Linked DNA regions of Homo sapiens: region 1 is linked to region 2. The links are contacts of gene promoters, found by promoter capture Hi-C in human tissues and cell types (Jung and others, 2019). All regions are on one chromosome and are shown on one strand. The core of a region is centred on a gene start or on the middle of the fragment in contact, and the rest is flanking DNA. Distances in the headings are between cores, read along the strand shown.

Region 1 (4,616 bases), core at 993-3,492, 180 kb after region 2:
TCCTCAGAAGGAAGCCAGCTCCACATGACTCTCTCCAGACCCTGGTGAGCTCTCCCTCTCCTCAACCCATAAACCCAGGGGTGGCAACAGACCTGCTTGCCCAGGGCTTGGAAAGTCCCTGATGGCTCCCTTAGGCCTGTCACAGCTTTATAATTACTCCCTTTATAAATAAACCCCCCTCTTTGTAAATAAATCTTACTGAAACCGCCTTTGCAAAATTATGACTGAGACAGTGAAAGAGATCTAACTTAACTGATTCCATCTTGCTTCTAACCTCCAAGCTGTCCGTGTTCATTCCTGGGTGTAGGCTGAGCTAACTTTGGGAGACACTTAGTTTATAGTTTATAGTTTATAGTTTAAACAAAGATCGTAACAGCCCTTTCCCAAAGCAGACCTCCTTCTTACCTGGGGACTAGATTGCCTTTGTAGGACTAACGTTAGCCACAAGATGAGAAATTATGATTTAGGAGTCATGCAGCTGGAGGCTACAAGATTCTGACCCTCCCTAAACTGCTCCTAAAATCAGTGCTTGAGATATTTTGCAGACCTTGCACTTGATGGATCAGCTGGCACTGCCCAGATCAATAAACTGGTTCATCCGATCTTGCTGCCCCCACCCAGGAACCAACTGAACGCAAGAAGACAGCTCCGACTCCCGATGATTTCATCCCTGATCAATCAGCACTCCCAGCTCACTGGCTTCCCCCGCGACCTACCAAGTTATCCTCAAAAACTCTGCCCCCAAATGCTCGAGGAGACTGATTCGAGTGATAATAAAACTCTGGTCCCCTGCATAGCTGGCTCTGTGTGAATTATTCTTTCTCTATCGCAATTCTGCTGTCTTGATGAATCGGCTCTGTCTAGGCAGCAAGCAAGGTGAACCCCTTGGGCAGTTACATTACTGGAATGTGCTTTTGGTCCCAGTTGAGACTCCTACTGATATATGGGACAAGGGCCTCAAAAGGATTCTGGCAGAATCCAGGAATGCCGTTTGATGGAAACAGCACTACAGGGACAAACGTATGTGACGGCGATGGAGACACAGCGGTGGCATCAAGCAAAGAGCAGCGGGCAAGGGCCTTTCTACTCCAATAAGGAGCTCGACTTTATCTGTAGGCAATGGGGAGCCACAGAAGGTTCTTAGAAAAGGAAGTGAGATGATTTGTTTTGTATTTTAGAAAGACTGGCAGGGCACAGTGGCTCATGCCTGTAACCCCAGCACTTTGGGAGGCCTCCTGAATAGCTAAGACCACAGGCACACGCCACCATGCCTGGCTAATTGCATTTTTTGTAGAGATGGGGTCTCATTATGTTGTCTAGGCTGGTCCCAAACTCCTGGCCTCAAACAATCCTCCTGCCTTGACCTCCCAAAGTGCTGGAATTACAGGTGTGAGCTACCGCACCCTTTCGAATTTTGAACCAAGTGTATGTATTATATATTTTTTAATAAATGAAAACTTTTTTAAAGAAGTAGTCTTGAACCCTGAGAGTGAGGTCTAAAGAGGGAGAGGTAGAAGTGTTAGCTGAAGCCACAGAACTGGGTGATTTCAGGAAAGAAGAACACGTGGGTGAAAAGAGAACCCAGAACCCAGTGCCCCTAGGTGGAGAGGGAAGCTGGAGGCCAGCCGGGGGTGAAGAGAATGCACTCAGGAAGCTTGGGTGGTGAGGGTGAGGAGAGATGGCAGGAGATGAGGAGGAGACTGGAAGAGAGAAGATTGTTTTCATGGCTATCGATTGTGGTGGTTGATTGCTTTTCAGATACAGATAGAATGAAGAGTGTTTACAGCCAGAGGAAGGGGGAAGTTAATTGTCCTAGAGAGAAAACAAGTGATTCAAGAGATGCTGGGCCAGGCGCAGTGGCTCACACCTGTGATCCCAGCACTGTGGGAGGCTGAGGTGGGAAGATCTCTTGAGCCCAGGAATTCGAGACCAGCCTGGGCAACAAGGTGAAACCCCATCTCTACAAAAAATACAAAAATCAGTATATGCGCACCTGTGATCCCAGCTACTCTGGAGGCGGAGGCACAAGAATTTCTTGAGCACAGGAGGCAGAGGCTGCAGTGAGCCGAGATTGTGCCACTGCACTCCAGCTTAGGTGACAGAGCAAGACCCTGTCTCCAAAAAAAAAAGAAAAAAGAAAGATAGGTGATCACCTTAGTTGGTGCATGAGAGACTCTCAAAAGCCCATATGGAAGAATTTAGTCATGGGACAGAGGAGAGACAGGTCTTCCTCTAAAACGAGTGAGTCACTGCCAGGAGTGCTGTCATTATGGAAATTTGAGAAAAAGGAGAAAGTGCGGTGTTACAGCTCCTTTAGAATTTGTCAACAAATTCCAGTGAAGACTGGAAAACCGCTTATTAAGATAAAATAAGAGAAGGGGAAAGTGGAGGGAGTCCATGCCTGAAGCTTTTGTTTTCTCTGTGGAGGAAGGAGGATTAACTGTGGAGGGTGAAATATAGAGGAACAGGGCTTGAGAAAGAAAAAAAATGCAAGGGAGAAACATTCGCCTGTGGTCCCAGAATCAACATGAAGACAAGCAAAAAGATGGCATAGCCATCGAACAAAGCAGTGGGAAAAAGCAGCTTGAAAGATCCACGCACTCTGGCCAGGCATGGTGGCTCATGCCCCCCACTCATTCCCTGGCTCATTCCCAGCACTTTGGGAAGCCAAGGTGGGCAGATCACCAGAGCTCAGGAGTTCGAGACCAGCCTGGCCAACATGGTGAAACCCCGTCTCTGCTAAAAATACAAAAATTAGCCGGGTGTGGTGGCGGGCACCTGTAATCCCAGCTACTTGGGAAGATGGGGCAGGAGAATCGCTTGAACCTGGGAGGCAGAGGTTGCAGTAAGCCAAGATCGTGCCACTGCACTCCAGCCTGGGTGACAGAGCGAGACTCTGCCTCAAAAAAAAAAAAAAAAAAAAAAATCCATACAGTCACTCAGAATCTCAATCAACAGAGGTTTGGGGAACAGGGGTGTGGAAGGCCGCCCCCCAGGATGGTCCCCAAGATTCCCACCTCTTGCCAATGACACCTTGCACCATCCCCTCCTCTGCAGTGTGACCTGGACTTATTTTTTAAAGACAGGGTCTTGCTCTGTCACCCAGGTTGGAGTACAGTGGTGCAATCATAACTTGCTGCAGCTTCAACTTCCCAGGCTCAAGTGATCCTCCTGAGTAGCTGGGACTGCAGGTGTGTGCCACCACGCCTGGCTAATTTTTTTTTTTTTTTGTAGAGACGGGGATCTCCCTATGTTGCCCAGGCTTGCCTTGAACTTGTGGCCTCAAGCAATCTTCCCACCTTGGCCTCCAAATAGCTAAGACTACAGGTGCTCATCACCACACTCAGCTAATTTTTTTTTTTTTTTTTTTTAGAGACAGGATCTCACTACATTGCCCAGGCTGATCTCAAGCTCCTGGGCTCCCAAAGCTTTGGGATTGCAGGTATGAGCCACTGTGCCTAGCCAAGGCGTTTTCCTAAAGTACAAGACCCTAGCACCTCCCTAGCTTCTGACTCTAATGGGACCCAGTTCCCCCACTCTTCTGCACCCAGAGCCCAGACCTTGAGCAGACGTCACCTCAGTCCTGCCCCCTCCCCTGGTCTTTTGCTGCGCATCTGTTCCCTCTGCCAAAGGCAACCCACCTCGGAGGGCCTCTGGGAACTTCTGGGGCTGCTGCCGTAGGTTGGATCCAAACAGGAAGCAGAGCCCTTTCACATACGTGTTCTCACTGCAAGTCTGGTGCACGGTGGGACCACAGGCCTAGGGGACAGGAGCCAGTGGAAGGGGCTGCCCCTGCTTCCTGTCCTTGTACCCCAGCACCTCCACCCTCCACAAGACCCCCAGCCCCACCATGCGTGGGCCCCCAAACACCCCCATTAGGATGCTCCTCTGATCGAGCCCCACTCACCAGCAGCTGAGGGGGGCTGGTGGTGGCTGCCAGGGACAGGCCCAGGGACATGTTCACGGCCTCCACGGGGACTGCGGGGACAGATATGGGCATGGTCACCCTGGTGGGGGGACAGAGAAGGCTGTGGAAGAGCTGGGCAGGGGTCACCTCCATGCGGGAGACAAGGAGGTCTGACGGTGAAGGGGGATCCTAAATCTTGGGAAAGAAAGGAACACAGAGGGGTTGCCTGGGGATGTCTAGGGTAGAGACTGCAGGCAGAGGAGAGGGTACGGAGGCAGGCACCTGTGTCCCCACCACAGATCCCCAGGACACAGGAGTGCCTGGAAAGTCCCTATGTGTTCACAGGGGAATCCCAGTCCCAGCCCGGCGGGGCAGTGACTCACCCTGCAGGCGGATGGGCTCGCATGAGCCTGTGCTGTAGTCGCACTGGTAGAGGCTGCCCCTTTGGTTGGCAGCCACTATCTCCTGGGGGGCTCCAACCACCACCCTGTGGGGAGAAGTGGGAACAGAGAAAACTTCGACATGTGGGGAGAGAAGGAGACCACAGAGGAAGTTCTGCCACCCAGAGGACGGTGGGGGCCCATACCCGGATTCCTAAATTCCTATGACTAGGAGGAAGAATTAGCAAAGAAAAAAATGGGAAAATGTTAAGACTCAGAATGAGAAAAGGTCTTCCTAAGAATGACACAAAAACCAGAAGTCATTTAAA
Region 2 (4,252 bases), core at 1,587-4,086:
CATGCTGTTGGACCTCTAAGACTGCAGAACTGTGAGCCAAATAAATCTCCTTTCTTTATAAATTACCCAATCTGTGGCATGGTTATAGCAGCAGAAAATAGACTACACCAGAATATAGAATATATCAAGAGTATAGAAACACAACTGACTTCTGTGTATTGATTTTGTTGTTACAGCTTTGCAGAATTTGTTTATTAGCTCTAACAAAGTTTTTTTCATAGATTCTTTAGGATTTTCTATAAAATCACCTCATCTATAAATGGAGATAGTTTTACTTCTTCCTTTCTGATTTGCTTGCTTTTTATTTTTCCTTGCCTCATGGCAAGAGCTTCCAGGCAAGAACTGGTGAGAGCTTCCAGTACAAGGCTGAATAGATGTGGCAAAAGTGGGCATCCCTTTCTTGTTTCTGATCTTAGAGGAAAAGCTTTTATTCTCTCACCATTGAGTATGATGTTGGCAGTGGGTTTTTTCATAGATGCCCTTTATCACGTTAATTGAGTTTCCTTCTATTCCTAGTTTGCTGAGTATTTTTATGATGAAGGGTGCTGAATTTTGTCAAATGCTGTTTTTACACCAATTGAAATAATAATGTTTTCCTTTATTGTATTGATGTAGTGTATTAATTTATTTTCATAAGTTAAGCTAACCGTACATTCCTGGGATAAATCCCACCTGGTTATCCTTTTTATATATTTCTGAATTTTATTTGCCGGTATTTTCTTGAGGATTTTTATGTCTATATTCATAAGAGATATTAGTCTCTAGTTTTCTTGTGATGTCTTTGTCTGATTTTGATAGTAGGGTAATACTGGCCTCAGAATAAGTTGGGAGGTTTTCACTGTCATGACTTTTATAACCTAATTATAAGTAATTCTTGCCAGGTACGGTGGCTCATGCATGTAATCCCAGCACTTTGGGAGGCTGAGGTGGGTGGATCACCTAAGGTCAGGAGTTCGAGACCAGCCTGGCCAACATGGCAAAACCCCATCTCTATTAAAAATACAAAATTTAGCCAGGTGTGGTGGCCGTGTGTGTAATCCCAGCTACTTGGGAGGCTGAGGCACGAGAATCACTTGAACCCAGGAGGCAGAGGTTGCAGTGAGCCGAGATCGTGCCACTGCACTCCAGCCTGGGTGATAGAGCAAGACTCTGTCAAAAAAAGAAAGAAAGAGAGAGGAAAGAAAGAAAGAGAATGAGAGAAAGAGAGAAAGAAAGAAACTCCTATAGTATTCCACAGGTCACATAGACCAACCCTGGTGCATTGTGGGAAGGGACTAAAAAGGGTGTGAACACCAGGAGTAGGATCACTGGGAACTATCTCAGCAGATGGCTGCCATAGCCACCAACTGACTAACATTCACTGAACACTCACCATGTGCCAGACATTGTGCTAAGCTCTTCACTTGGCTTATCTCCTTGAATCTTCCCAGCAACCTTATGAGGTAAGTAGGTGCTGTTATTATTGCCATGTTACAGATGAAGAAATTGAGATACAGAGATTAGATTCACCAAACTGCCCAAACTCCCACAGCTATTAACTGGTGGAACCAGGAATCAAACTCAGTAGGGTGTGCATATAATATACTTTGGGTGGTGGTGGTTGTTGTTGTTGTTGTTGTTGTTGTTGTTGTTGTTGTTGTTTTGAGACAGGGTTTCACTCTTTCACCCAGGCTGGAGTGCAGTGGCATGATCTGCAACCTCTGCAACACTGCAACCTCTGCCTCCTGGGTTCAAGCGATTCTCCTGCCTCAGTCTCCTAAGTAGCTGGGATTACAGGTGTGCACCACCATACCCGGCTAATTTTTGTATTTTTAGTAGAATAATTTTTGTATTTTTAGTTTCACCATGTTGGCCAGGCTGGTCTCGAACTCCTGACCTCAACTGATCCACTACCCTTGCCCTCCCAAAGTGCTGGGATTACAGGCGTGAGCCACCGCGTCTAGCTTTTTTTTTTTTTTTTTTTTTTTTTAAGAGACATGGTCTTGCTCTGTTGCCCAGGCTGGAGTGCAGAGGTGTCACCATAGCTCACTGCACCTTCAACCTCCTGGGCTCAAGTGATCCTCCCACTTAAGCATCCTGAGTAGCTGGGACCACAGGCGCCCACCACCAAGTCCGGCTAAATTTTAATTTTTTTTTGTAGAGATGGGGGTCTCGCTTTGTTGCCCAGGCTGATCCCTAACTCCTGGCCTCAAGCAGTCCTCCCGCCTTGGCCTCCCAAAGTGTTGGGATTACAGGCGTGAGCCACTGCGCTCAGTCTGTGTATCCTGATTACTAAATTTTGGGGTGTCTCCTTAAATTCTGTGCCAGAAGCCAGTGCCTCACTCGCCCTACCCTAATTCCACCCATCCCGGTGACCCAATGTCCCCGTTCAACCTGCACCATGGCGCTTCCCAGCCCCGCTCCTAGCGCCTCCTCCCGCCCCTAGGGGTCGCCGTCGCGCCGTCATTCCCTTCCTTCGATGCCCGGGCGAGACGCGCAAAAGGTGGGAGGAGGAGAGGCCCGCGTGTGTGCATGCGCATGGCGCGGACTCCCTCATCCTGGTCAGGGAGTGGAGGGGTTGGGTCTCAGGCAGCTGTTAGCGGAGTCCTCAGTGTCTCGGTCGTTTCTCCCTGTCTTGGTGAGGGCCAGGGGACAGGTCGGGGCAGTATTTGGGGGAAGCGAGAGGCAAGCAGGGCGGGCTGGATACGGAGCGCCCTATGACTGAGGTTAGGGAGGACGCCCGAGACCCCCGGCATCCTAGTCCTGGGCCGTGGGCTCCGGACGCCGGGCCAGGACGCCTCCAGCTCCCAGGGTCCCTTGCGGGGACCATGTTTCCCCACAGGCCCCGCGGCTGCCGGGTCCTCGCCACGTCCCCTTCCCGGAGCTACGCGCCCGGCTGGGTTCCGATCCGCCGTGTCTCTCGGGGGCGGCTCGCGGGGCAGGGGCGCTCCCGGCTCGGCCGCACGCCCAAGTGTCATGCGGGAGGTACGCGGGCACGGGACCTCACCGGGTAAGAGCGAGCGAAGGGGCCGGGCGCGGTGGCTCACGCCCGTAATCCCAGCACTTTGGGAGGCCGAGGCGGGCGGATCACGAGGTCAGGAGTTCGAGACCAGCGTGGCCAATATAGTGAAATCCCTTCTCTACTAAAAATGCAAAAATTAGCCGGGCGTGGTGGCGGACGCCTGTGGTCCCAGCTACTCGGGAGGCTGAGGCAGGAGAATCGCTTGAACCCGGGAGGCAGGGGTTGCAATGAGCCGAGATCTCGCCACTGCACTCCAGCCTGGGGAACACAGCGAGACTCCGTCTCAAAAATAAATAAATAAATAAATAAATAAATAAATAAAATCGAGCGAAGGGCCGCAGCCCGGGCCCACCGCCTCCACCTGAACACGCGCCTCCGCCGAGCCCCTCGACCCCGCGCCAGGCGAGGCTTGGTGGGGCGTTCCGTGGACCCCACACGCACGTCGGTGTTATCAGGAGGGAAGGGGCGGGCCAACACCTCCACCGCCTTTGCGGCCGGCCGTCCACCCTCCATTCTCCTGCTGGAGCCGTTTCCCAGCGATTCTCCGGCAGTGCTGGCTGCAGCACACCCGGCCCGCCTTAAAATCTCAGCCGCCTCCCCCGTCCCGGAGTCCTCCCCTGGGTTCTGTCCTTAACTGCATCACCGACCCCACATACACACAGGCATGAACACCCATCTTTTCACACGCCCCGTTTGCTTTCTCAGAACTTAGCAGATACTCTTAAGCTGAGAGGGTTTGGTGAGGTTAAAATTTATCTTGTGACATTGAGTCCAGCAGTTCAGAGCCTTGAACACCTCAGTACATGGCCTTGACCTTAGTTTATTACTTCTGTATTCTGCCGGGCGCTGCGGCTCACGTCTGTAATCCCAGCACTTCGGGAAGCCAAGGCGGGAGGATCGCTTGAGCCCAAGAGTTGGAGAGTAGCGTAGGCAACAATGAGATCCTGTCTACACTAATTATTTAAAAAAAAAAAATTAGCCAGGTGTGGTGGTGCACACCTGTGATCCCAGCTACTCAGGAGGCTGAGGGAGGACCGCTTGAGCCCAGGAGGTCGAGGCTGCAGTGAGCCATGATGGTGCCACTGCACTCCAGCCTGGATGATAGAGGGAGAGCCTGTCTCTAATACTAATAATAATCAATAATAATACTGTACGGTGTGCCCATTACTCAGGAGGCACTGTAGTAGAAGGATAAGCTGTGGCGGTAACTGAGGATAAACAGATAACCATTTAGCTAAAAAGGTTCTTAAC

The links. Contacts are between HindIII fragments. The study calls those that stand out against the background at their distance.
Region 1: a contact is called between a fragment that was not itself captured here and the fragment with the promoter of ZNF843 in region 2, in 1 of the 25 tissues and cell types used here (spleen).

The regions. Positions count from the first base shown.
Region 1 is chr16:31,265,173-31,269,788 of GRCh38, reverse strand. ITGAM (integrin subunit alpha M) reads right to left here. Exons shown (of 30, transcript NM_000632.4): 3 at 4,291-4,394; 4 at 3,908-3,978; 5 at 3,642-3,759. Among named protein-coding and RNA genes, the nearest start is that of ITGAM, 7.5 kb to the right of the region's middle. RefSeq lists enhancers at 3,942-4,421, 3,536-4,616. The HindIII fragment of the contact is 5,038 bases long and covers 1-4,616 here.
Region 2 is chr16:31,441,373-31,445,624 of GRCh38, reverse strand. It overlaps ZNF843 (zinc finger protein 843), which reads left to right and starts at 2,836. Exons shown (of 2, transcript NM_001136509.3): 1 at 2,836-2,989. RefSeq lists a silencer at 2,820-3,029 and an enhancer at 2,414-3,209. The HindIII fragment of the contact is 16,324 bases long and covers 1-4,252 here.